Linked DNA regions of Homo sapiens: regions 1, 2, 3, 4, 6 and 7 are each linked to region 5. The links are contacts of gene promoters, found by promoter capture Hi-C in human tissues and cell types (Jung and others, 2019). All regions are on one chromosome and are shown on one strand. The core of a region is centred on a gene start or on the middle of the fragment in contact, and the rest is flanking DNA. Distances in the headings are between cores, read along the strand shown.

The links. Contacts are between HindIII fragments. The study calls those that stand out against the background at their distance.
Region 1: a contact is called between a fragment that was not itself captured here and the fragment with the promoter of SH3D19 in region 5, in 3 of the 25 tissues and cell types used here (adrenal gland, mesenchymal stem cells and small bowel).
Region 2: a fragment that was not itself captured here is called in contact with the fragment with the promoter of SH3D19 in region 5 in 1 of the 25 tissues and cell types used here (pancreas).
Region 3: a fragment that was not itself captured here is called in contact with the fragment with the promoter of SH3D19 in region 5 in 1 of the 25 tissues and cell types used here (dorsolateral prefrontal cortex).
Region 4: a contact is called between a fragment that was not itself captured here and the fragment with the promoter of SH3D19 in region 5, in 2 of the 25 tissues and cell types used here (mesenchymal stem cells and mesendoderm cells).
Region 6: a contact is called between a fragment that was not itself captured here and the fragment with the promoter of SH3D19 in region 5, in 6 of the 25 tissues and cell types used here (H1 embryonic stem cells, bladder, heart right ventricle and 3 more).
Region 7: a contact is called between a fragment that was not itself captured here and the fragment with the promoter of SH3D19 in region 5, in 1 of the 25 tissues and cell types used here (mesenchymal stem cells).

Annotation. Positions count from the first base shown.
Region 1 is chr4:151,142,170-151,146,063 of GRCh38, forward strand. It overlaps SH3D19 (SH3 domain containing 19), which reads right to left. Exons shown (of 20, transcript NM_001378122.1): 12 at 1,741-1,881. Among named protein-coding and RNA genes, the nearest start is that of SH3D19-AS1, 20 kb to the left of the region's middle. The HindIII fragment of the contact is 4,262 bases long and covers 1-3,528 here.
Region 2 is chr4:151,082,439-151,086,179 of GRCh38, forward strand. No RefSeq gene overlaps it. Among named protein-coding and RNA genes, the nearest start is that of RPS3A, 15 kb to the right of the region's middle. The HindIII fragment of the contact is 4,380 bases long and covers 1-3,596 here.
Region 3 is chr4:151,105,488-151,109,777 of GRCh38, forward strand. No RefSeq gene overlaps it. Among named protein-coding and RNA genes, the nearest start is that of SNORD73A, 3.8 kb to the left of the region's middle. The HindIII fragment of the contact is 7,291 bases long and covers 1-4,290 here.
Region 4 is chr4:151,505,463-151,509,236 of GRCh38, forward strand. The region is part of intron 3 of FHIP1A (FHF complex subunit HOOK interacting protein 1A); the gene reads left to right. Among named protein-coding and RNA genes, the nearest start is that of FHIP1A, 98 kb to the left of the region's middle. The HindIII fragment of the contact is 5,266 bases long and covers 1-3,774 here.
Region 5 is chr4:151,323,479-151,327,159 of GRCh38, forward strand. SH3D19 (SH3 domain containing 19) reads right to left here and starts at 2,127. Exons shown (of 20, transcript NM_001378122.1): 1 at 1,763-2,127. The coding sequence starts at 1,874. The HindIII fragment of the contact is 31,894 bases long and covers 619-3,681 here.
Region 6 is chr4:151,486,028-151,489,847 of GRCh38, forward strand. The region is part of intron 3 of FHIP1A (FHF complex subunit HOOK interacting protein 1A); the gene reads left to right. Among named protein-coding and RNA genes, the nearest start is that of FHIP1A, 79 kb to the left of the region's middle. RefSeq lists enhancers at 1-693, 2,796-3,429. The HindIII fragment of the contact is 4,294 bases long and covers 1-3,421 here.
Region 7 is chr4:151,569,229-151,573,001 of GRCh38, forward strand. The region is part of intron 4 of FHIP1A (FHF complex subunit HOOK interacting protein 1A); the gene reads left to right. Among named protein-coding and RNA genes, the nearest start is that of FHIP1A, 160 kb to the left of the region's middle. The HindIII fragment of the contact is 3,965 bases long and covers 1-3,330 here.

The sequences.
Region 1 (3,894 bases), core at 148-2,647, 180 kb before region 5:
GTGCTAGTCACTGTGTTAAATACCTTATATGCATTAGCTCAATGAATTTGTTAAACATCTTTGAGATATAACCCACATACAATAAAATTTACCTACTGAAAGTGAACATGGCTGTAGCATATTCATAGAATTATCCAACCATCACCATAACCCAAGTGCAGAACACTTTTATCACTCCCCAAAGAAACCTCCTACTAATTAGGTGTCACACCCCAGTTACCCTCCCCTCAGCCCCAGGCAACCAGTAGTCTACTTTCTGTCTCTATGGATTTATCTATTCTGGACTTTTACACAAATAACATCATATAATCTGTCAACTCTGAAGACAACTCTGTGGGCAGTTATCTCACACATTAAAAAAATAAAGTTTAGAGAAGTTAAATAACCACCGAAGAAGGTGGAAGGGGAACCAAATTCCACTTCCCTGAAACCCAGGTCTGGGGTCTCAACCATGTACCAGGCAACAACCTTCCACTTTTCCCATGATCTGTCTGATTCAACCACAACTGGTCATGTTCATTCAATATTTTCTGTTTGCCAAGTTAGGGCAAAGTACAACATATTCGTAGAGATATTTACCTTAAAACTAGGCTTTCAAATAGGTAAGTTTTATTTAAAAAAAAAATGTAACAATAGCCATGAACCCAGAAGCATAAAGGAGGATTCATTTCATTATCACCAATAGCTGCCCATCAGAGGCCAACTCTCTGCAAGTCTATAGTAAAAGATGAGAAGGTGGTATTTAAGGTGGAAAGAACTTTGCACTGTTATAAAAGACTAACTTTTGGCTGGGCATGGTGACCCATACCTGTAATCTGAACACTTTGGGAGGCCCATGCAGGCAGATGGCTTAGCCCAGGAGTTTCAGACCAGCCCTGGCAACATAGTGAGACCCTGTCTCTACAAAAAATTTTAAAAATTGCCAGGCATGGTGGTGCACGCCTGTAGTCCCAGCTACTCAGGAGGCTGAGGTGGGAGGATTGCTTGAGCCGGGAAGGTCAAGGCTGTAGTGATCATACCACTGCACTTCAGCCTGGGCAACAGAGTGAGACCTTATCTCAAAAAAAAAAAAAAAAATTCTAATTTTTTTTAGCTTCTATTTTTCACAAAGGAAAGCTTTTTGGCAGTATAACTTCCACTGTTGCCATAAGTGTGTTCTGAAAGAGGAAGGACAGCTATGACAGATGGATAATGCCGTACCAAAACAGAGAAAATGAGTCAGTGGAGAACTTGCCCCGTGGGAGCTAAAGTAAGGATTTTCATATGCCAGCAGAAGCTACCTTAACACATATCTCCTCTGCTCTCCAAATACAATTTTTTAGTTTCTTAGCAAACTTCAAAAGATAAACTGCCTTCTAAGAAGAAAAAATGGGAAAAGATTATGAAAACTAGGATAAACGGCAAACCAAGTATTTTACTTGATCACTATTATTTTTCATATTTACTTTATTTTTTTATTTGTTTTTTTTTTCCAAGACATAATCTCGCTCTATGGCCCAGGCTGGAGTGCAGTGAAGAAAACAAAACACAGGGTAGTCACTCTGTATCGAAGTGATTAGTATGGCAGTGGCAAGTCTCTTAGTAGTAATTTATTCTAAAAGTAGAATAAATGCTACTGTAATTTTTACTCTGGTTAAAATAAATGTGCTAATAAAAACCTGAAGATGAGATATAATTAATAGTTCCATGAAATGTGCTGCTATGTGTGATATGAGGGCTGTAACAATATTAATTCCTTACGTTTGGTCTGCTTCTAAGATGTTCATCAAGTGGAGTGATAATCTTCATTTGAGACAGGTGAACTCTGCCAGTGTCTTCTCCCTTTTGGCACTCCAAGTAATTATTTTCCGTCTGCTTCAGCATCACAAGTACATCCCCACGCTGCAAGGTACAATACCACTCTCTGAAGCAATTATTATTTAATAAAACATTATTACTTTTTCACATTTTAATCTTTGGAGCCTAAAGCATTTAATAATGTGTAATGGTAGTAACAGAGGCCAGTAATTTTTTTTTTACATTAACCAGTAAGGAAAGAGCTCTACTTTACCTTACAAGAGAGTTCTCCGGGGTTTTGAGAGACAATATCTTCATTGGCAATTCCATGAGGCACAGACAGCTTAAACGTAAACCAATAAAAGGCTTATTCACAATCAAATAACCTCCTCTTAAGTTGCTGATCATTTAGGAATTTGGCATGTGTGTGCCTAAAGTGCACCTTCTCCAGCAGCTAAACTCACCTGGCTTCATCGCGCTCTAGATCAATGGAGCCTGCCATTTCTCATGGATGTTAAGAGGCTCTTGGGAGTTGGAGTTAGGCCCATAGAACCACAAGAGCTAAACATGGCCTAACATTCCCTTAATGACCATAACCAGGAAGTTCTGTTCTACAGGACAAGATCCGCCAAGTCCCCTGGGGGTTTGAAGGAGAAACACCCAGCACTTGACCTCACAGCCAGTTCTTTAATTCAGGGTTCTTACAATGGTGGCCTCTGAAGGCTGATCAGTGATTGGAGCCCTCCGTGTACTGCCTGCCTGTTTCCATAGACCTTGAAGCTCTTCTCCTAGAGTCTCTCTGATACCAAGTGTCTACTTAAATCCATTTCATGGCCTGATCCCAGCCACTTCCTGGTCCACTCAGCTCTGTCTGATCTTAGAATGGTTTTTACATCTGTACTGGACCTTGTCCAGGAGGCTCTGTTCCCTGCTTTGGAAAATTTTAGCTGATGAGTGCACATCAGACGGTCTGTACTATATAAAAGGCATACCCAGGAAATGCAATCACACAAGCTCACATCCAACATGGGAAGAAGGCTGCCTGGGCCTTGGATCACCCAGGAGCAAAGATCCACAGTGCAAGGATGTGGCCCTGTACAGCTGGCTTGGTGGTGCCATTTCCCAACATCTTTGTCAGATTCCTAGGGCTTCCAATGTACCCAGATTCCTGGCTAGCAATTTAATGGTACTGTAGGCATGCAATAAATGAAAGATTTGAAGAATTATTTTGTAATGAGACATACAGCTCTATATATACCATCATTTTGAATGTATTGAGTTTTAAAAAATGCTTTATTGACATTATACGACTATGCTAAGAACTGTCAGGCCTCTGAGCCCAAGCTAAGCCACTGTGACCTGCACGTATACATCTGGATGGCCTGAAGCAGCTGAAGAACCACAAAAGATGACATTCCACCATTGTGATTTGTTCTTGCCCCACCCCAACTAATCAATCGACCTTGTTATGTTCCTCCCCAGGACAATGAGTCTCCTGATCTCCCTACCCTGCACCTTGTGACCCCCGCCCCTGCCCGCAAGAGAACAACCCCCTTTAACTGCAATTTTCCACTACCTACCCAAATCCTTTAAAACTGCCCCACTCCTGTCTCCCTTTGCTGACTCCTTTTTTGGAATGAGCCCGCCTGCACCCAGGTGAAATAAACAGCCTTGTTGCTCTCACAAAGCCTGTTTGGTGGTCTCTTCACACAGACGTGCGTGACAAGAACCAAATGTGAAATCTGGTTCCCCTTGAGAAAGGGCTCTTAACAGAATGGCCAAATCAAGTAGAGGCTACGATTGGCGTAATGGTTAGGAGCAGGTGTCAGAGCCAGCTGACCTGTTCTCAAATCTTGCTCCACCATTAACTGGATTCGCAACCCTGGGCATGTTACTTTATGTCTCTGTTTCTTATTTTCCTCACTTGTTAAAGGAGGATAATAATATCTACCTCACAAGGTTGGTATGAGGAATAAATGAGTTATTTAATACATACATAAAGTGCTTCAAACAGCGCCTGGCTCATAATTAGTACTCAATATACATCAACTACTGTTATTTATTAATTAAGTAATCTATCCCAAAGAACACCCCTGGGTTTTAGAAATTAAAGTTTTA
Region 2 (3,741 bases), core at 157-2,656, 240 kb before region 5:
CATCCATCACCTTACATAGCTCTATGTGTTGGGGGGTTGGGGGGCGGTGAGGACACTTAAGATTTACTCTCTTGGCTGGGCACGGTGGCTCACGCCTGTAATCCCAGCACTTTGGGAGGCTGAGGCGGGTGGATCATGAGGTCACGAGATTGAGACCAGCCTGACCAACATGGTGAAACCCCGTCTCTACTAAAAAAAACAGAAAAATTAGCTTGGCGTGGTGGCATGCGCCTGTAATCCCAGCTACTCAGGAGGCTGAGGCAGGAGAATTGCTTGAACCTGGGAAGCGGAGGTTGCAGTGAGCTGAGATCACGCCACTGCACTGCAGCCTGGTGACGGAGCGAGACTCTGTCTCAAAAAAAAAAAAAAAATTTACTCTCTTGTCCTTGTCCTTGCCATGATCAGGACTAAAAAATAGAAAATAAAAAAAGATATACGGCCGGGCATGGTGGCTCATGGTGGCTCATGCCTGTAATCCCAGCACTTTAGGAGGCCAAGGGGGGTGGGTCACAAGGTCAGGACTTTGAGACCAGCCTGGCCAACATAGTGAAACCCCATCTCTATTAAAAATACAAAAAATTAGCTGGGCATGGTGGCGGGCACCTGTAATCCCAGCTACTTGGGAGGCTGAGGCAGAAGAATCGCTTGAACCTGGGAAGCAGAGGTTGCAGTGAGCCAAGATTGTGCCACTGCACTCCAGCCTGGGTGACAGTGTGACACTCAGTCTAAAAAAAAAAAAAAAAAATTTCCTCTGGTAGCAAATTTCAAGTATATAATACAGTATTAACTATAGTTACCATGCTGTATATTAGCTCCCCGGGATTTATTTGTTTTTCTAATTGAAAGCTTGTACTCGGCTGGGCATGGTGGCTCACGCCTGTAATCCCAGCACTTTGGGAGGCTGTGGGGCAGGGCGGGTGGATCACCTAGGTTAGGAGTTCAAGACCAGCCTTGCCAACCTGGTGAAACTCCATCTCTACTAAAAATACAAAAATGTAGCTGGGCATGGTGGTGGGTGCCTATAATCTAGCTACTCAGGAGACTGAGGCAGGAGAATTGCTTGAACCTGGGAGGTGGTGGTTGCAGTGAGCTGAGATTGTACCATTGTACTCCAGCATGGGCAACAAGAGTGAAACTCTGTATCAAAAAAAAAAAAAAGAAAGAAAGAAAGTTTGTACTCTTTGACTAACTTCTCCCCATTTCCCTTTTTCTGATCTTAGGGAAAAGTCATCCCATTTTTTACCATGAAGTATACTGTTAGGTGTGGGTTTTTCATAGATGCTTTTTATTAGATTAGGGAAGTTCTCTTCTATTCCCAGTTTAGGGGTTTTTATATGAAAGAATGTTGAGTTTTGTCAATGCATTTGATATGATGTATTACACTTACTGATTTTCAGATATTAAACCAACTTCATATTCTTAGGATAGATCCAACTTAGTCATAGTTGCTGTCCTGTCTCAGCCTCCCGAGTAGCTGGGATTACAGGCACGCACCACCACGCCTGGTTAATTTTTGTATTTTTAGTAGAGACTGGGTTTTGCCACATTGGCCAGGCTGGCTGGTCTCGAACTCCTGACCTCAGGCGACGCTCACCTCGGCCTTCCAAAGTGCTGGGATTACAGGCATAAGCCACCACGACTGGCCTATATATTTATTTTAAAGAGAAGGGGTATTGCTATGTTGCCCACGCTAGCCTTGAACTGGGTTCAAATAATCTTCCTACCTCAGCCTCCCTAGTAGCTGGGACTATATAGTCATGCACCACTAGGCCTGGCAAAAAAATTTTTTTTTTTTTGGTATTGTCAGGGTCTTGGTCTGTAACTCTTACCTTTCAGTGCTCTTACTTTTTTTTTTTTTTTTTTTTTGAGACAGAGTCTAGCTCTGTTGCCCAGGCTGGAGTGCAGTGGCACAATCTCAGCTCACTGCAACCTCTGCCTCCCGGGTTCAAGCGATTCACCTGCCTCAGCCTCCCGAGTAGCTGGTATTACAGGTGCCCACCACCACGCCCAGCTAATTTCTGTATTTTTAGTAGAGATGGGGTTTCATTGTGTTGGCCAAGCTGGTCTCGAACTCCTGACCTCAGGTGATCCGCCCACCTCGGCCTCCCAAAGTGCTGAGATTACAGGTGTGAGCCACCACCTCCGGCCCACTATTATAGCCTCCTGAGTAGCTGGGATTACAGGCACGCACCATCTTGCCCGGCTAATTTTTGTATTTTTGTAGAAACAGGGTTTCACCAGTTGGCCAGGCTGGTCTTGAACTCCTGACCTCAGGTGATCTGCCCGTCTTGGCCTTGCAAAGTGCTAGGATTACAGGTGTGCGGCCCCGCGCCTGGCCATTTTTTATTTTCTGTATATAATGATGTTTTGAAATCTGAAAAAACTTTTCTGTCTAGGGTGATTGCCCATGCCAGGGCTAGCCAATTCTTTTTTTTTTTTGAGACAGCATTTCACTCTTGTTGCCCAGGCTAGAGTACAATGGCGCAATCTAGGCTCACTGCAACCTCCGCCTCCCGAGTTTTTAAAGGGGTTTTCCTGCCTCAGCCTCTTGAGTAGCTGGGATTACAGGCGCCCACCACCACGCCCGGCTAGTTTTTTGTATTTTTAGTAGAGATGGGGTTTCACCATCTTGGCCAGGCTGGTCTTGAACTCCTGATGTCAGGTGATCCACCTGCCTTAGCCTCCCATAGTGCTGGGATTACAGGCGTGAGCCACCACTGTGCCCGGCTTTTTTTTTTTTTTTTTTTAAGACAAAGTCTCACTGTGGCCCTGGCTGGAGTGCAATGGTGCCATCTTGGCTCCCACCTGTAACCACCACCTCCCAGATTCAACTGATTCTCGTGCTTCAGCCTCCCGAGTAGCTGGGATTACAGGTGCATGGGACCGGGACTGGCTAATTTTTGTATTTTCAGTAGAGTCAGGGTCTCACCATGTTGGCTAGGCTGGTCTCAAACTCCTGACTTCAAGTGATCTGCCTACCTCAGCCTCCCAAAGTGCTGGGATTATAGGCATGCCCTACTGTGTTCAATCCCAATTATTTATTTTATTTTACTTTTTTGAGACAAGCTCACCAAGTTACCCAGGCTGGAGTGCAGTCGTGTGATCATGGCTCACTGCAGCCTCAAACTCCCAGGCTCAAGCTATCCTCCCACCTCAGCCTCCCAAGTAGCAAGAACTACAGGTGCACATCACCAAGGCTAATTTTTTTTTTTTAAATCTTTGAGACGGAGTTTCACTCTGTCGCCCATGCTAGAGTGCAGTGGCGCTATCTCAGCTCACTGCGACCTCTGCCCCCAGGGGTTCAGGAGATTCTCCTGCCTCAGACTCCTAAGTAGCTGGAATTACAGGTATGCACCACCACACCTGGCTAATTTTTGCATTTTTAGTAGAGAGGGTGTTTTGCCATATTGGCCAAGTTAGTCTCGAACTCTTGACCTTAGGTGATTCGCTTGCCTCAGCCTCCCAAAGTGCTAGGATTACAGGCATGAGACACCAAGCTCAGGCAATTTTTATGGTTTTGTAGAGACGGTGTTTTGCCATGTTGCCCAGGCTGGTGCCAGTTAAAGATAGCAAAGAACTCAGCTGAGAGCATGCTTTCTATATGCAAACTAACCAATCCAGAGCCCCATGGCCTCTATCTATACCCATGCACCAGGCCTTAACCATTTACTCTGCCCTGTCGTTCTACAAAATCCCAATAAAGGCTCTAGCCTTGGTTTCCCAAGCTAGAATTCAAACCCA
Region 3 (4,290 bases), core at 158-2,657, 220 kb before region 5:
GGTTGCAGTGAGCTGCACTCCAGTCTGGGCTACAAAATGAGACTGTTGAAAAAAAAATTACATTTGAGAGACATGATCTTACTCTGTCACCCAGGATGGAGTAGAATGGTGTGATCATAGCTCGCTGTAACCCTAAAGTCCTGGGCTCAAGCAGCCCTCCCTCTCAGGCCTCCTGAGTAGTTGGGACACAGGCCTGTGCCACACCACACCCAGCTTTTTTTATTTTAAAGACAGTCTCACTGTCACCCAGGCTGGAGTGTGTTAGTGCGATCTTGGGTCACTGCAACCTCCATCTCCCAGGTTCAAGCGATGCTTGTGTCTCAGCCTCCCCAGTAGCTAGGATTATAGGCACCCACCACCATGCTGGGCTAATTTTTGCATTTTTTAGTGGAGATGGGGGTTTCGCCATGTTGGCAAGGCTTGTCTTGAATTCCTGGCCTCAAGTGATCCTCCCGCCTTGGCCTCCCAAATTGCTGAGATTACAGGTGTGAGCCACTGCACCAGGCCTAATCTGCTAGTTTTTAAGTTCTTTGTAGGGTCTTGGCTGTTATGTCCAGACTGGTCTCAAATTCCTGGCCTCAAGGGATCTTCCTGCCTCAGCCTCCAAAGTGCTGGGAGTATAGGTGTGAGCCATGGTGCCCAGCCACATTTTTTAGTTTTTATTTTATTTTTCTTCAATTTGCTGCAGTTAGGCTTTCCTCCCAACACCACTCCAAGACATTTCATTGTCAAGATTAGCAGTGATTTTGTTGCTAAATTCAGTGGTCCATTCTTTTACTAGAGGTCTTTTACTTGACCTCTGTTAGTGACTTGCTTATCACTTTGTCCTGTTAGTGACTCTTGACAGTTGATTTCTTCCTGATTTTAACTGTCTTCCAGATCCTCGACTCAAGCTTTTCCTCCTACATCATTGGCTACTCCTTTACTAGTTCATTTTTTAGACTTTTAATCAGTTTTAGAAGGCCCTAGGGCTGGTCGGGTGCAGTGGCTCACGCCTGTAATCCCAGCACTTTGGGAGGCTGAGGCGGGCGGATCACGAGGTCAGGAGTTACAGACCAGGCTGGCCAACACAGTGAAACCCTGTCTCTACTAAAAAATACAAAAAGTTAGCCGGGTGTGGTGGTGTGCACCTGTAATCCCAGCTACTTGGGAGACTGAGGCAGGAGAATTGCGTGAACCTGGGAGGCAGAGGTTGTAGTGAGCTGAGATTGGGCCATTGCACTCCAGCTGAGGAGACAGTGTGAGACTCCGTCTCAAAAAAAAAAAAAAAGAAGGCCCTAGGGCTTGGTCGTTAGACATTTCTATACTCTCCCTAGGTTCTTGGTTTTAAATTAATGGAGATTTTTATATTTCTAGCCTATACCTTTCTTTGGGACATCCAGGTTTGTCTAAGTGCCTACTTGATATCCCCACTTGGATGTCAGACAGGCATTTAACATACAGTGTTCTAAAATGGTATTATCTCAATTGTACCCACCCTTTTGGTTGCTTAGGCCAAAATCCTCTGTGGTCATCCTTGACCATTCACAGTTGATTCAAACTATATATATCTGGAGTCTAATCAGTTATTACCATCTTCTGCTATTTGAAACAAGCCACCATTACTACTTGGATTGTTCCTGCCTACCTTGTCTATGTCCTATCTTGTGGAAGTCTTTTATTTTTTATAGGCAGGATCTCACTCTGTTGCCCAGAATGGAATGCAGTGAGACAATCAGCTCACTGCAGCTTTGCATTCCTGGGCTCAAGTGATCCTCCTGCCTTAGCCTCCTGAGTAGCTGGGGCTACAGGTGTGTGCCACCATGGCTGGCTAATTTTAAAATATTTCATGTGGAAATGGGGTCTTGCTATATTCCCAAGGCTCCAAGGCTGGTCTGGAACTCCTGGCCTCAAGTGATCCTCCCGATTACGGGTATGAGCCACTATACCAGGCCCTGAAAATCTGTTTTAGACGATTCATTCAAAGATCCCATGTGATCTTGCATCTGACTTGTCTCTTACTCCTATTCCCCTTGCTCTTCCCTGTGCTTGAAATATTCTCCTTTACATGGCCACAGTGTTTATTTCACCTCCTTGAAGTCTCTGCTGTTTGTTGTTTATTTTTAAGCAACCTGAATGAGGAATTGAAGTTTGTTCTAATAATGTCTCCTCCGTAGAATCTGGTGGTGCCCTCTGACACTTGTGATTTTTTTCCAGTTTTGTTTACTCGTGTCTATGAGAAAAATTCCATGAGGACAGTGTTTTTGGTGGTGGTAGGGCACTGATTAATTGTCAGATCATCATTGCCTAGTTCAATATTTGTTGAATAAAGGAATGAGTGATATTCCCTATTAATGTCCCTTAGCCAAGAAACAAATGCCTTACTTTCTACTAAAGGCTGGTTTAGACATAGATATGGGTCCCAAATGGCAGGGGCTCCCTCCCCAGGGTAGAAAAAGAGGTCATGGGATGAGGACTGATTATTACATAAATGGTGGTTTTCCTCTTGATGCACTGAGGCTGGATATCATTTAGTAAGGTAATAGTATAATCCATAATCAAGCTCTAATCTGCTACACCTTGGAATAGGGGTTGGCATAGTATTCTATTTTTAGAAGGGCTCATTTGAAAGAGGTTCCAAAAATAATGCTTTTTTTTTTTTTTTTTCGAGACAGAGTCTTGCTCTGTCGCCCAGACTGGAGTGCAGTGGCACAATCTCAGCTCACTGCAACCTCTGCTTCCCGGGTTCAAGTCATTCTGCCTTAGCCTCCCAAGTAGCTGGGATTACAGGTGCCGGCCTCCACACCCGGCTAATTTTTTGTATTTTTAGTAGAGACGGGGTTTCACCATGTTGGCCAGGGTGGTCTCGAACCCCTGACCTTAGGTGATCCACCCGCCTTGGCCTCCCAAAGTGCTGAGATCACAGGCATGAGCCACCGCGCCTGGCCACAAGTAACTATGTTTAATGCCCACCACCAGTCTTTAGATTGATGGCTCTCTAGTTATTTTGGTTGTCTGAAGCATGTCCTTTGGTAGGTTCCTTAGGAAGTTCTTATTCTTCCATGGTGAGTATAATTTGTCAGAGTACTTTATATCTCAAAGTCACTTTTGCTGCATCCTTAGCTCCTTGGCTCACTCTTTAAGCATCTTAAATATGCTACTCCCATTTTTTTAAAAATAACTTAAAGCATTGCTAGTGAAAAGTATGATAATTAAATTTCTTTTAAAAGTCTTCGATTTTGGGTAGAGGCCCCCCAGTTTTTTCTCTTTTTTTTTTTTGAGATGGAGTCTCACTCTGTCGCCCAGGCTGGAGTGCAGTGGCACGATCTCAGCTCACTGCAATCTCCGCCTCCCAGGTTCACGCCATTCTCCTGCCTCAGCCTCCTGAGTAGCTGGGACTACAGGCACCCACCACCATGCCTGGCTAATTTTTTTGTATTTTTAGTAGAAGCGGAGTTTCACCATGTTAGCCAGGATGGTCTCGATCTCCTGACCTTGTGATCCGCCTGCTTCGGCCTCCCAAAGGGCTGGGATTACAGGCGTGAGCCACCGTGCCCAGCCTTTCTGTTTTTTTTGTTTGTTTGTTTTTAAGAGACGGAGTCTTGCTCTGTCGCCCAGGCTGGAGTGCAGTGGCATGATCTCGGCTCACTGAAAGCTCTGCCTCCTGGGTTCATGCCATTCTCCTGCCTCAGCCTCCCAAGTAGCTGGGACTACAGGTGCCCACCACCACGCCCGGCTAATTTTTTGTATTTTTAGTAGAGGCGGGGTTTCACCGTGTTAGCCAGGATGGTCTCGATCTCCTGACCTCATGATCCGCCCACGTTGGCCTCCCAAAGTGCTGGGATTACAGGCGTGAGCCACCGCGCCCAGCCTTCTGTTTCTTTAAAATCCAGTAATTTTGCTTGAATATGTCTTACTAGGGTTTTTTTCTGATTAAGTAGTGTTACGTAGGCAGTATATTCTTTTTTTAATTTTTGATACGGAGTTTCGCTCTTGTCGCCTAGACTGGAGCGCAATGGCGCAATCTCAGCCCACTGCAACCTCTGCCTCCCAGGTTCAAGCGATTCTCCTGCCCCAGCCTCCTGAGAGGCTGGGATTACAGGCGTGTGCCGCGATGCCCAACTAATTTTGTTATTTTTATTAGAGATGGGGTTTCACCATGTTGGCCAGGCTGGTAATCCCAGCACTTTGGGAGGCCAAGCTGGGCAGATCACTTGAGGTCAGGAGTTCCAGACCAGCCTGGTCAACGTGGCAAAACCCTGTCTCTACTAAAACTACAAAAATTAGCCGGGCTTGGTGGCGTGGGCCTGT
Region 4 (3,774 bases), core at 509-3,008, 180 kb after region 5:
CCCCTTCCATGCAAAGGTGAAGTGGCCATTTATTCCAGTGTCATTGCTAGACTTCTTAACATTTTTCAGAAGGGGACAGCAATCTGCCACTCAGATGACCACTGTGAAGCATATGAATATATTCTTGATCGGTAATTTTGAATAATTGAACGCTGAATGTTCACAAAAAGAGAAAAATCTTTAATTCTCTGCTGTTGAGTCTTTATCAAAAGCTTAGTTTTAATAAATAACATTCAAGTGGGCATGGTGTGAGCCTGTAGTCCCACCTACTCAGGAGGCTGAGAAGAAAGGATCACTTGATACCAGGAGTTCAAGACCAGCCTTGGCAACATAGTGAAAATTTTTTAAAAATTGAAGGAAGATTACACAAAAGATTTTCTGTCCATCTATAACTACTGGTTACTTTCCAACAGCCAGTTTACCCTTCTTTTTTTGTTGAATGATATTGTGGGAAATTGGATAAAGGAATTTTTTTCTTGAGATAGGGTCTTGCTCTGTCACCCAAGCTGGAGTACAGTGACATGATCAGGGCTCACTGGAACTTCGAACTCCTGAGCTCAAGTGATCCTCCCACCTCAGCCTCCTGAGTAGCTGAGTCTACAGCACATGCCACCATGCATGGCTAATTTTTTCATTTTTGTAGAGGTGGGTGTCTCACTGCGTTGCCCAGGCTGGCCTCTAACATTCCCCCTGTCTTGGCCTCTCCAAGTGCTAGTATTACAGGTGTGAGCCACTGTGCCTGGCCTAAATGGGGGAATGAAATTGACCTCGGTGGTGAGTAGGAAGAGAAGGGCCATTTTTGGAACAGGATAGTTAATAAAATATTTACAATGACTGCAAGGCTACACTGAGTTTTCTATGAACTTTGTTAAGGAAGTATTTTCACTAAATGAAAAGAAGTATATTGCAGTATATTGTCTTAGTCTATTTATGTTGCTATAAAGAAATACCTGAGGCCGAGTTATTTATAAAGAAATGAGGTTGGTTTGGCTCATGGTTCTGTAGGCTGTAAAATAAGCATGGCACCAGCATCTGCTTCTGGTGAGGGCCTTGGGAAACCTCTACTCATTGCGGAAGGTGAAGAGAAGCTGCTGTATGTGGAGGTCACATGGTAAGAGAGCAGAAGCAAGAGAGAGAGGGGAGGGAGTACCGGGCTTTTTTTAACAGTCAGTTCTTGTGGGAACTAAGAGTGAGAAGTTATTCACTCCTAAGAAAATGGCACCAAGCCCTTCATCAAGGATCCACCCTCATGATCCAAGCATCCCCCACCAGGCCGCATCTCCAATATTGGGAATCAAATTTCAACATGAGACTTGGAGGGGACACATATCTAAACTATATCACATGCCTTCAAAGAGTGCTGAATTAACATAAAAATATGAAACCAGTTATGTAATATGGGAAGAGATTTAGAATTGTAATTATTTTTTAAATTTATTTACAAACAACTTTGCTTCCTGGGACAGAGGACAGGTCTTCCCATTTCAACAAAAAATAAATCAAATATGACATGCCATTAGCACATAAGGCAAAAATGAGACTTCCATAATCTTGAACACAAGGTACTTGTTTCTAGTTGAGATTTCCTACCCAGAATGGCACTGCTTCATTAAGTGATTCATTCCACTACCTCTATTTATGCTGTGAAAGCCTTTCCCCTGCCCCCCCACTTTTTTTTTGAGATATGGTCTCACTCTGTCACCCAGGACATAGTGCAGTGGCATGACCACAGCTCACTGCAGCCTTGATCTCCCAGGCTCAAGTGATCCTCCCAGCTCAGCCTCCCAAGTATCAGGGACCACAGGCTTGCACCACCACACCTGGCTAATTTTTAAATTTTTTGTAGTGATGGGGTCTCGCTATATTGCCCAGGCTAGTCTCCAACCCCTGGGCTCAAACAGTCCTCCTGCCTTGGCCTCCCAAAGTGCTAGGATTACAATAAGGAATGAGTGAGGAAAAAATGAGAAAATAAGAAAAAATGTGAAAAGTTAGAACATGTTATCTATTATTTTTAACCTAGATTATTTATTTTTTCCCTCTTTCCATTTAATATGTGTATTTATTAGTATTTGATAGTTAAGGATTATCTAGTGGATTTTAATTTTCATATCATTATACATTGCCAAGTGCTGTGGCAGATGATCTTAGATGCATATTGTATGTTATAGGATATGCTTTCTTGGCTATTAAGTGAACAAGGGCATCTATAATGTTTTCGATATTTATTTTCAAAATTGTAATGACCCATAGAAAAATCCCTACTGCTCTCCTCATCCCCCACCTCCTTATGGTTTAAACACGTTGAGAACCACAGTTCTGTCCTCTGAGAGAGAGATGGAGATATTTACAGGGATAGAAGGGATCAGGAGCTGAAAAGAATGGTAAAGGCTATTGCTTACCAGTGAGATTGTGTTATATATTATTTAAACAGGGGAGGTAAATGTTTCTGATCCTGGAAGCTTGAGTAGTACTGAACTTAGAGTCTCTTTCTTGACGCATTTTGAATCTGAAGGATTCTGAAGAAGATAGAATATAGAATGAAAACTGAAGAGGCTATTTTGAGGTAAAGACTGGAGGAAGTGGTACAGGAAGACCAAGAAATCAGGCAAGGCCTTATCCAGCAGGTTTATAAAAGGTTTGGAAGAGGCACAGAGATGGAACTAGGTAGATAAAGCAGGAGTTACAAAACAGGATTGCAGAATTTTATGTGGCTCTGTGCTTTTGAGTAACTCAATTTTTATTTAATCTTAGAATATCTCAGAGAGATGCAATATTTACAAATGGAAAACAACCCCTTTTGGAACTTAAGATCTGGGAAAGAACAAAGCAGGCACAATAATTTGGGGAGAAAGATTCGTGGGTCCTGCCTTCATGTGCAGCCTAGTAATGTTAGGTGTACTGAGGTCTGTCCACTGGCCAGGGTTGTCTCCTTTGGTTGCTGGTTCTGGAATTGTTAGTCTCTTGCCTTGAGCTGGGATCTGGCCCATCTAGAAATTTCCCATCAGGAATACGTGGCTGTAGGTGGTCCAGGGCTGAAGCTATAGGTAAATGATGAGTGGTGAGAAAGAACAGGCTGCCTTCTTCTCGCCCTGTAGGTGAACAGTAGCACACCCTCTATCCCTAACCATTGTTTAAACCAAAAAATTCAGCAGTATACTTGCATAGAAAGGCTCTCAGAATCAAAGTTTGACACTTTTACTCTTGGAAGGCTTAGAATCATGGGCTTACCAAAAATAGGTGACTTGGACTTGGAACCCACTGAGTCCTGGAACCAGGTAATGCTGGTTTCTTGGGATTGACTTGACCCTGTCAGAGACAGAGCGGAGCAAACAGCCTGCTCAAAGATTGGAAAAGTCCATTTCCCTACCAGTCAGCATTTACATACTCTCTTTCTCCCCAGCCAGCCCTCCCTAAAAACTACCCACAATGTTGAAAGAGCACTCCTCTTAAAACTTCTGTCCCCTCCCAAAAAATCTAGGAAACCCTTAAAACAACAGTTTTTCCTCCTTTTGGGTTTGGATGAAATTCCTCTCTTTGAGCAGGTGTCAGACATTCTTAAGCAGTGCTACAGTGCTAGGATGGGGCTTCCCATGTACAAATGAATACTAAATAAATATTACTCGAGGAGAGTAAAGGAGCTGGGAAGCAAACTGACTTTTTCAGTCACTGGCATGACTGGAAGCATTTATTAAGTATTTTTTTTGTTTGTTTGTTTTTTTTGAGACAGTCTCACTCTGTCGCCCAGGCTGGAGTGCAGTGGCGTGATCTCGGCTC
Region 5 (3,681 bases), core at 877-3,376:
GGAGCTCAGCTTGTAAAGAAATGTAAACTATTAAATAATTTCTTCTAAAAGAAATAAATCCAAAAATCGCAAGTTTAACCCTCTTACTCATTCCATTACATCGTCCTCACACCCTTTAATGGAAAAAGGGCATATAAATGGTTAGAAAACTACAAACACCAATTACTGAATGCAAAAAGTACACAATGTCATGTCTCAGCAAAATATTATCAAAGAACCTAGAAAAGCCTTTGTCAACCTTGAGAAATTAGGGAACTGGTGAAAACTAATTACAAAATGTCATTTCCACCAGCTTTGGAATAAATACACATATTGCAACTAAATGATAAACACACATCTGGATCACATCTAGTCTGAACTCCAAAACAGGTCTTCACTGTACAGTCTCTTGTGAGAATGAAGCTTTCTGCTGAAGGTAACAGGAATCTAAGGTGGCCTACCCTGTTTAAATCCATAGGTCAGGCATGGCGGTATATCTTTGTAAAGTTTTTTCATTGTACTCTTGCAAGAAATATTCACTTATATCCAGCAACTATTCATTATTTCACAAGGTTTGGGTTTACACTGAACAAAATTACCAATTATGTTCAAAACTGGTGTTCATATAGACAGCCAAATGCCTTATTTTGATGAAAAGTTGTAATAATGAGCATGGAGAATTATTTTTATGTTCCAAGATTCTACCAAAGGCATTAAATTGACTATTTCTTCAAGATGTTCTTCTCAAGTTTTCCTTTCATCCTACTTTCTACCCTCCATTTGTTCCGCACAGATACAATATCTTCTCTATTTTTCCAACTTTCTCTTAGTGGTTAAGGGAGTCACACAGAAAAGCTTCTCCACTTCATGGAATATTCGCTATATTCCACTTTATAATGAGGCTCTCAGTGAATCGTTCTCCTCCGACTCTCTCACTTCCCTATCTCCCTTTTGTTGCCAGTCCCCCTAGGTTTGTTCTTCCCTCTTGTTTTCAGATAACTCGGATTACCCAGTTGGAACCAAAGGCCAAAGAATGTCCTCTCTATTATGTTTGATTGAAAAGCCGCCCGGAAGAGGGAAGGGGTGTGGATCTACACTTATTCACTCTTTCACTAATGTGCCAAACTATTTGATCCGTGCCGCTTTTGTGTACCCAAAACACAGTATCATAAAAGTAATTACAGGCCCGAAAATGATTCTCAGCCCAAATGAATGGCCTTTTGGAATGCTATATTCTGGACTTCTCTTTGCGTGGGGGAGGGTCTCACAACTAACGAAAACAAGTCCTACAGAAAACTGGTGAGCTCGGCGGCTGGGGGAGGGAGGGAGGGGGGTCACAGGTCCGAAGTGCAAGGGACGCCGAAACAGGACTTGCCTCAGTTATGAGCACGTGCTCTGACCTGGCTGCGGCGGCGCAGGCAAACCCCTCGGAAGGTGTCGTTGTCCACCGAGACGGCCATTGACCTCTGACTCATCCAGAGATAAGTCATCAACCAGGCCACAAGTCCCAAGCCAGCAGCTCCTGGATTTAGTGTGCACGGAAAATTTGAGTTTCAGCTGTACGACCACTAGCAGTTAAAGACGGGTCTGAATTTCCTCGGGCTCGGCCGGAAAGTGAGGATGGCGATGGAAATGCCACCCTCCCCGAGTCTGGCCTCTGAGAGTTAAAGAAGCCGGTCCCATCCCGGCGCGTGAAGGAGCTGCCGCTGTGTGGGGCAGGACCCGAGCGGCCCCAGAGCGCGCAGCTCTGGGTCCCCGCCGCCCCGTCCCCCGCGCCTCTCACCTGCGGCCGAGTGGCCCGAGAGCGCACGGCCCCGGGCGCGGCGCTGGCCACCAAGTTCGCGGCGCTCGCGTAGCTCTTCCTCCTCGTCCTCCCGCCGCCGGCCCTCAGCCATGGGCGAGGCGCGGGGCGCAGCCGCGGGATGGCCAGCGAGCTGCGGCCCCGGCGCCCCAGAACGCCTGCACCCGGCGCCCCACGCCACCGCCCTCGGGCCGGGGGGAAGGCGGCTCCCGGAGAGGAGGCGTCGGCGGCGGCTGTGGAAATGGCCACCTCCGCGAACTCCACCTGCAGCCGGCCGGGCAGCGGCAGGGCGCGGGCCGAGCCGATTCCCCGCCTCCTTGCGGCGTCCCGGCGGCCTCTTAATCCCTGGCCTTTCCCACTCCCACTCCCGCTCTCTTCCCCCTTCCTCTTTGCCTTCCCCGCCCCGTAGAGCTCCACCGCGGATCGGGCGGGTTCGGGGCTGGCCTCGCCTCCTCAGGGAGGGGTTATCGGCCCCTAAGGCCGCCCCACAGCCACACACGCTGGAAACACCAGCTCGACCCAAACAAACGTGTGCAAAATAAATAAACGGGATAGGAAGAGGGGAAAGAGGAGGTGGCCTGGCCTCTTCCTGCCTTTTCACGATATTCCAGTGTCAACAGGAAACCCATTTGTTTGACACTTAAACAAAAAGAGGAGGAACCCGACCGGGGCCGAACTGGGAGAGATGGGACAGCTGGGAGCTGCTGAACTTTGGAACAAACTTGGCTTGGAGTTGGGTCGAGCCTCTGCAATGCACACTTTTTTCTTTCCCTCTCTTTTCGCCCTTAAAAACCTAGACTTGCGGGAGCACAGAGGATTTTTAGGGCAGTGAAACTACTATGCGTATGATTCTGTAATAGCGGATGCCTTTGTCCAAGCCCAAAGAATGTACAAAACCAAGAGTGAACCGCAATGTAAACTATAGACTTTGGGTGATTATGAGGTGTCAATGTGGGTTCATCAATTGTAGCAACTGTGGCACTCTGGTGGGGGATGTTGATAATGGGGGAGGCTATGCATGTGTGGGAGCAGGGGGTACATGGGAAATCTCTGTACCTTTAGCTCAATTTTGCTGTGAACCTAAAACTGTTCTTAAAAATAGTCTAGTAAGACTGGAAGCGGTGGCTCATGCCTGTAATCCCAGCCCTTTGGGAGGTCGAGGCGGGCAGATCACGAGGTCAGGATATCGAGACCATCCTGGCTAACACGGTGAAACCCCGTCTTTACTAAAAATACAAAAAAAAAAAAAAATAGCCAGGCGTGGTGGCGGGCGCCTGTAGTCCCAGCTACTCGGGAGGCTGAGGCAAGAGACTGGCCTGAACCCAGGAGGCAGAGCTTGCAGTGAACGGAGATCGCACCACTGCACTCCAGCCTGGGCAACAGAGCGAGAGTCCTTCTCGAAAAAAAAAAAAAGTCTAATAAAAATGTTTAATAATAAATCAAGCCTCACTGTATTCCAGTTCATTTAGGGCTAGGATATGGCTACAATTCCTAGAAGAACAGGAAGAAATGTGTTAAAGAGACCCATACGTGATTATTTGTAGAGAGGCAACTAGGGGAAGTGGAGAGACCACTGGCTCTGGAGTCAGAAACTGTAATTTGAAGCACTTAGCTGTGTGAGCTACCCCTAAGAAAGTTTTTCAAAGCTGGAAAGAACCGTGTAACCAAAGTTGTGTGTACCTGCACAATACACATCTTAGGTTCAGTAGGTGCACGTACTTACTTTCACACAGAGAGGAAAAGATTCTGGAATTTCACCAAAAGATACCCAAGTAGCAGGCAGAAATATTACCTGGACATGAAACCTTAGGAAATTCCTGAGTGCGATGAACAGGCCTTTATCTTTGGCGTCTTGCTCTATTTCTGAGAGATTACCAAGAGCTCCTAATGTTCAGCAAGTA
Region 6 (3,820 bases), core at 25-2,524, 160 kb after region 5:
CAGGCGTTAGTTAGATTCTCATAAGGAGTGTGCAACCTAGATCCCTCACATGTGCATTTCACGATAAGGTTTGCGCTTCTATGAGAATCTAATGCCACTGCTGATCTAACAGGAGGTGGAGCTCAGGAAGTAAAGCTCACCCACTGCTTACCTCCTGCTTGGTGGCTTGGTTCCTAACAGGCCAGAGACTGGTACCAGTCTGGGTCTCAGAGGTTGGGGACCCCCTGCTCTAGGTGATTCTGATATGTGCTATTGTGCAAGCCATTTATTTTTTCTTGTCCTTGGTCTCCTGAGCAGATACATTACGGGTTCTCAAACTGTGTGCACATGAATCATCTGGTAAGCTTATTTTAGACATTTCAAGAAGCAGAGAATTTTTCCTGACCACATACCAGGAGATTTTGATTCAATACGTCTTGGATAACTCAGTTTATGTGCATTTTAACGAGCTCTCCAAAGTAGTTCTCATATCTATGATCTGGATTAAATGGATGTCTCTCACTTTCTTCAAGCCCAAAATTGATGTGATTTTAAATGGCTCTTTGGGTTTAGTAACTGAAAACTTGGGGCCAGAAATTTATTTGTAAAATGCAGTTTGGATTATTTTTTGCTGAAGTCAGATTATGTTCTGATTTCTTTCCTTGAAAAATATTTTCTTGCCGGGCGTGGTGGCTCATGTCTGTAATCCCAGCACTTTGGGAGGTCGAGGCGGGCGGATCGCCTGAGGTCGGGAGTTCGAGACCAGCCTGACCAACATGATGAAACCCCATCTTTACTAAAAATACAAAAATTAGCCGGGTGTGGTGTCAGGCACCTGTAATCCCAAGCTACTCGGGAGGCTGAGGCAGGAGAATCACTTGAACCTGGGAGGTAGAGGTTGCAGTGAGCCGAGACTGCGCCACTGCACTCCAGCCTAGGCAACAAGAGCAAAACTCCATTTAAAAAAAAAAAAAAGAAAAATATTTTCTTGCTTACTATATAATATTTTTCTGAGGCTTCTCCTTCTTGTTAAGGAAAAGAGCCTTTGGCCCTTAACTTGGAGATTTCATTATGCAGTTCTTCTAGGTAATTCTTTCAAATAGTAAACCTTAAAACACTATTCTAGGGAATGTCACTTTTTATTGAGATGTATCTTTTTGTCCCTGCCCTGTATTTCTTATCTTTAAGCCTGTTCCCTATGGATGATGGTATATTTTCCTCATCTCAATGTCATTCATATTTTTGTTTTTTTCTTTAGTTTTATGGTACTTCTTTATTAGAAGAATCGTTTGTGAGTCTTCCTCTTCTTTTCAGTCTTTTTTTTCTCTGTTCATCCCTTGGATTTAGGAAATTTCCAAGCTTTTTCTTCTTTCCACATCTCACCCACATGTTCTTCCCTCAGGGCCTGCTTTTTCATGTTGGCTAGGAACTTGCTCAGACATCACCTTAGCGTCCACTTTATAAAGTAGCATCCAACTCCCACAACTCTCTCCTAAGCTTTAGACCTGGATGTCCCACAGTCAGGTCAGGTTATCGTGTCTGGCATTGAACTCATTGTTCTTCACACCTGAAATCCGTGCCTTCTTTCATATTCCCTGTATTGGTAAATGGCATCACCATCAACCATCAACCAAATGTAGCTAACATTTATCAGGTGTTTCCTGTGTGCCAGGCACTATTCTAAGATCTTCCATGTAATTCCTTACAAAATCCTTTGAGATACATTCTATTATTTTTCTCATCGTACAAATAAGGAAACCGAACCACATAGAGTTTAAGAAATTATCTCAAGGTCACAAAAGGATTAATTAATGGAGATGGAATTCAAGCCAGGCTGTCTGGTTCTAGAGCATGTAGTCCTAATTACTGTGCTTTGCTGCCTTTCTTTTTCAGTGGCTCAAGCCAGAAATCTAGGATTATCCTTTACTTCATTTTCTTCCCTCTGCATATCTGCTTGGGACTCTTGAGTTCACCTGCTAAATCTCTCTTAAAACTACACTTCTGCTTCTCTACATTCATTGTAAGGGTTCTGGTCCAGACCTTCATCATCTCTCTTCTCAACTACTATAATTGGTGTTTTCTTTCCATTCATTTATGTTATGACTGGTGTATTCTGATCATGACACTCCTCTGCATTCACCAGTGTAGCTCCTCCACAATCAGTCATCCATTGTGGGCAATGCTTTTCTTTTATCCATATGTGCAGGTTTGTTATATGGGTATATTGTGTGATGCTGAGGTTTGGGGTATAAATGGTCCTGTCACCTAGGTAGTGAGCATAGTACCCAATAGGTAATTTTTCAGCTCTTTCCCCCCTCACTCTCTCTCCACTCTAATGGTCTCCAGTGTCTATTGTTCCCACTTATAAGTGAGAACATGTGGCATTTGGTTTTCTGTTCCTGCATTAATTCTCTTAGGATAATGACCTCCAGCTGCATCCATATTGTTGCAAAGGATGTGATTTCATTCTTTTCTAATGGCTGCATAATATTCCATCATGTACATATACCACATTTTCTGTATCCAGTCCACTGTTGATGAGCACCTAGGGTGACTCTATGTCTTTACTATTGTGAATAGTGCTGTGATTAGCGTGTGAGTGCATGTGTCTTTTTGGCAGAACAACTTATTTTCCTTTGGGTATATACCCAGTAATGGGATTGCAAATGCTGCCATAGTATTCCATTCTTTTCCTTTCATCTGACTCATCAAACTGTTTTAGTTGTTTGTTCAGTTACCTCTTTTAGACCGTGAGCTGCATCTTATTTATTTCTGTGCGTCTATCACCCAACGTAAGTATTCAATATTGATCATATGAAAGGACAAATGAATATTTAAATGAGCCAACTGATTTCTACCAATTCTACATGCTTCCTACTTTTGTAAAATAACTCGAGCTGGTGGAGAGAGAGTGGGAAAATGGCAGATAGGAGACAGGATTAACAGGCAGCTCCCACTTAGACAGACAGAACAGCATATGGAGACTCACATTGTGAAGTTTTGCTCCAAGAACCACCACAGGAACATACCAGGAAAACTGAAAGAATTCACAGACCCTTTGAAAGAAGCAGCTTACCGCTGCAAACTCTACGTGAGTTCCCAAGGTGTGAGAGGAGGAGAAGTCTGCCTCTGCACCCACATCCCACTGGGAACCTGAAAATCCTGAAAATCCAGCTCACAGGAGAAGGATTTAACCTCACCTAGAGCTGAAACGGATTTAGGGAGCTGAGTGAAATATAAAAGTAGAAGAAGTAGTGGGAAGAGCACTGTAGGCACTCCAGGTCCCCAGCTAGAGTCCAGGGAAGCCATTCCTGGCCTTATATCACAGGGGTCTTTGGGGAAGGGAAGGCAGCCAGCAGAATTGGGGAGGGGCCACAGAGTGAAGGAAACTCCTAGCTGAACTTTGTAATAATTTTGACTGAGCACGAATTTTCCTGAGTAGAATGTAGGGTTGAGGAGTGAACAGGAAGCGCGGATAGGAGTGCAGAAGCTACAGCCAAAGGTGCAGGCAGGTGGGGAGGGGCAAGGCCTGAGAGCCCTGCTTGCTTTCTCAGCAGGGAGGCTTGTAGCCTGGGGCAAGATCTCAGCCCTGCTTGCCAGCTGCTGGATATAAACTCAGTGCTGTTATCGAGGCATGGTGGGAGTGAGACTGGCCTTGCTGGGAGCTGGGTGAGACCTGTCATTGCCGACTTTCCCCGCTTCCCTGATGACCTGTAGGGTGCAGCAGAGGCAGGCATAATCCACCTGGGAACATAGCTCTATTGGCCTGAGAACTACCCTCCATCCTCCTCAGTGGCCGCAGCAAATCCTACCCAAGGAGAGTCTGAGTTCAGACCCGCCT
Region 7 (3,773 bases), core at 98-2,597, 240 kb after region 5:
CCAGTGTAATGCTTTTTTAAATGTTAAATTAGCAAAAAGTGTTGGCCGGGCGCTGTGGCTCACGCCTGTAATCCCAGCACTTTGGAAGGATGAGGCGGGCACATGATGAGGTCAGGAGTTTGAGACCAACCTGGCCAACATAGAGAAACCCCATCTCTACTAAAAATACAAAAATTAGCCAGGCATGGTGGCGGGTGCCTGTAATCCCAGCTACTCAGGAGGCTGAGGCAGGAGAATCACTTGAACCCAGGAGGTGGAGGTTGCAGTGAGCCGAAATTGCGCCACTGCACTCCAGCCTGGGTGACAGAGCAAGACAATGTCTTTAAAAAAAAAAAGGAAAAAATGAAGGCAACAAAAGCCTGTGGTATCCCAAGTTCTGTATGTTAGGAGACTTAAGTATAAATTCAACATAATTAACTTGTATTTGACAGGTTCTGTTCTGCTATTTGTTAATAGCCTCTTTTCCAGAGCTTGAGTTAAAAAGCAAACATTGATGGAGGAGATCTGCTTGCCCACTTATACCTTAGAGCCTGTCAGAGGCAGCTAGTTATACAACCAGCCATCATCCAAGCAGTCTGTGATTCTGGAGAGTTGCCAGGGGAGAGACCTTAAATGGCCCAGTGGTGCACTTGAGGTTCCCAACTGCTTCTGGGTCCAGTGATCTCATGGCATCCCCAGAATCATTCTAGAGTAGACTTTCAGGAATGGTTGCATTCCAAATAGTGACACTGAAGAGTCTGGGCTGTAGAAAGTAGCCCCTGACTTCCTGTCACCTTCTGAGATGCCATTTTATGCTATAAGTTGCCAGAGCAATGAATCTCAAACCCAGATCTGTCTGGTTCATTCCTCTGGTTGAACCTTTCAGTGGCATCTGGCCACCTACAGCCCAGGATGACACACAGAATTTGTTACGTCCTGGCTTCTGTTACTCTCTGCCTCTCATTTAATCTCCAAAAATGCAAAGTTGCTTGGGGTTCCTAGCCACCCCCTCTCCTGGCAGCGTCCATCATGCTGTTTCATCCCTCTGTGCCTTAGGCACTCCTTCTTCTTTCTGCCTGAAATATTCCTCCCACTGGTTAAATGCCTGTCCTTCTACAGGCCTCATTTGAGGGATCATTTGCTCTAAGAAACCTTCCCTGCCCTCTTTCATGCTCCCACCCCATGTTCAAGCATTAACCTGAGTATTCTATCACTCTTACACCAACCACCTTTTAATTTAATTACTTATATTTTTAGAGAGAGAGTCTCTCTATGTTGCACTGGAGCGCAGTGGCTATTCACAGGTGTGATCATGGCACACTACAGCCTTGAACTCCTGGCTCAAGAGATCCTGCTCCCTCAGTCTCCCAAATAGCTGGGACTGCAGAGATGTGCCACTGCGTGTAGCCCAACCACTTTTTATTAAAATTACATATACAGTATCTTCTTCACACTCATTACGGGCTCCTCAAGATCAGAGGCCATTTGTAACTTACATCCCCATTGCCCGGAACAGAGTGTGACATATAGTAGATGTTCAATAAATGATTGAACTGAAAGGCAGTCAGTATGAAATACAAGTTTAAAAGAGCTAGGCAACTTAGGAAACAGCTTTCAACATACACTAATTTTAAAACATTGTATAATTTGTCACCGGCAAGATCTTTGGACTTGGCATTAAATGATCTGGAAGAGTGTGTGTATATACTTAATTTTTATAGTAGTCTATTAGAACAGTTTATTCTCTAGTAGACTGTTGTTTTTATCTCTTGCCTTTGTTTCTTTGTTTTTATCTGAATGGAAAAGAGGACAGAAATAGTAAGAAGCATTAGCCCACCAGGCAATAAACTATTCAACTAGACTGCCATGTGAATTAAATTCCCTACACTAGTTATTTTTGATGGCACAATTGTACTTTCTGAAGCTTCATGGACCTTGCTCTATTCATTTTCTATCTGCTCCTTTCAAGCATTGAATTCCAAAAGGTCTCTGCTCTTAGAGCCAGGAGAACAGAGGAGGTGGGTTAAAACAAATCAATTGGAAATGCACATTTCTGTCTTTGCTTCTAGTTAGTTAATAGCCCAGAATGACTTCTTTCTACCTTCAGCCTTTAAAAATAAGCTGTTTAAAAATTTTTTAGGCTAAGAAAATATCAGAGCTCAAATAAAGTAATAGTGATGGATGAGGAAAAGTCAGTGGGTTTAGTAACCTTTTTCATCTTGGAGGGGGTAGGGATGGGAAAAAACAGAACCATCTAGATTGGTTAATTAAGTCAAATGTCTTCCCACAAAAATGAAAAACAGATAATATACTTGAGTTATGGTATTTTGTGTGGAGCTCCAAGTAGCCCGAATCTAAAGTCTAGAGCATCCATGCATGGATTTGACATGTGTACTGTATTTGAGTCTCATTCCCTTGCTCTGCTCATCTCCACTCTTTTGCTCTGTGCCTTGTACTAGACTAAATGACAGAGAAAAATTAAGTAAAGCCTTTGAGAGATGAACAGTTGGGACGTATTAGAGAACTCTGATTCATTTTCTAAATATCTTAGTAAATTGATGTTTGTTAACATTTCAAAAAGTTCTCTCTCTCTTCCAAGACTTACAGGTAGCTCTAGCCTTGACAGTAGAAGGTAAAGTGAACCAAAGTTATACTTCTTAAGTTAGATGGCCGAGGCATTAACTTGCACTTCTATCAGACTCTAAAGTGGTTGAGCATGGCCGGGTGCAGTGGCTCTTGCCTGTAATCCCAGCACTTTGGGAAGCCGAGGTGGGCGGATCACCAAAGGTGAGGAGTTTGAGACCAGCCTGGCCAACATGGTGAAACACCATCTCTACTAAAATACAAAAGTTAGCCAGGTGTGGTGGCACATGCCTGTAATCCCAGCTACTTGGGAGGCTGAGGCAGGAGACTTGCTTGAACCCAGGAGGCAGAGGTTGCAGTGAGCTGAGATTGCACCATTGCACTCCAGCCTGGGTGACAGAGCGAGACTCCATCTCAAAAAATAAAAATTAAAATAGAAATACAATGCTTGAGCATGTTGAAATGTCAGCAGCTCTCTTACTGTGTGCTTGGTGGTAAGTTTGATTTTTGCTGTGGTTGAAATTAGTGTTCTTTGAAATATTATTATTTGGATCATTACTCATAAGGCCTTTCCATAACTGTTTTATCCAAGATTTAGGCAAGCCTCTGGAGCTCAGGGCTGGAGCTGACATTAAAAAACTGGTGTTAAGTGAATACGTATTATAAAGCTGTTATCTTAATATAAAAAGAAGTGACTTGGTAGAGGTCTCCCTGTGGAAACAGATGCACAAGGAACACTTCATACTGAAAGACACAGCTGTTAAGTAATGAACAAGGACTGTATGGAAACTTTTGTGTAGTTATTTGGTACATTAAGTGGAATTTGGCTTTAGATGGCTAAATCTTGCCCTTCAGTGTGTTGGAAAATATTGCATAGTAACTTGTTTTTTTCCACAATGCCACCTTATTTTAGCATTCCAAAGGATTTGGAAGTATGGGTTTTACACATATGACTTTCTTAAAATAACTAGGCTCTAACTTTGGTAGCATAAATAATTACCTACTGATACATGCATGTATGTAAGACATAGAATAATATTAAGTGGAATCAAAGCTAGTCTCCTGAGAGAGAAACACTTGTGTTTATCCTGAAGGGTAATCATTTGTAGCTGACATACAATTAAGTGATTTATGTAGAGCCTTCATTTTGAAAGCATTTGCACTTCCTGTTTAGAATTTGTGGCCATTTGAAATTCAGGCCAATTATCATT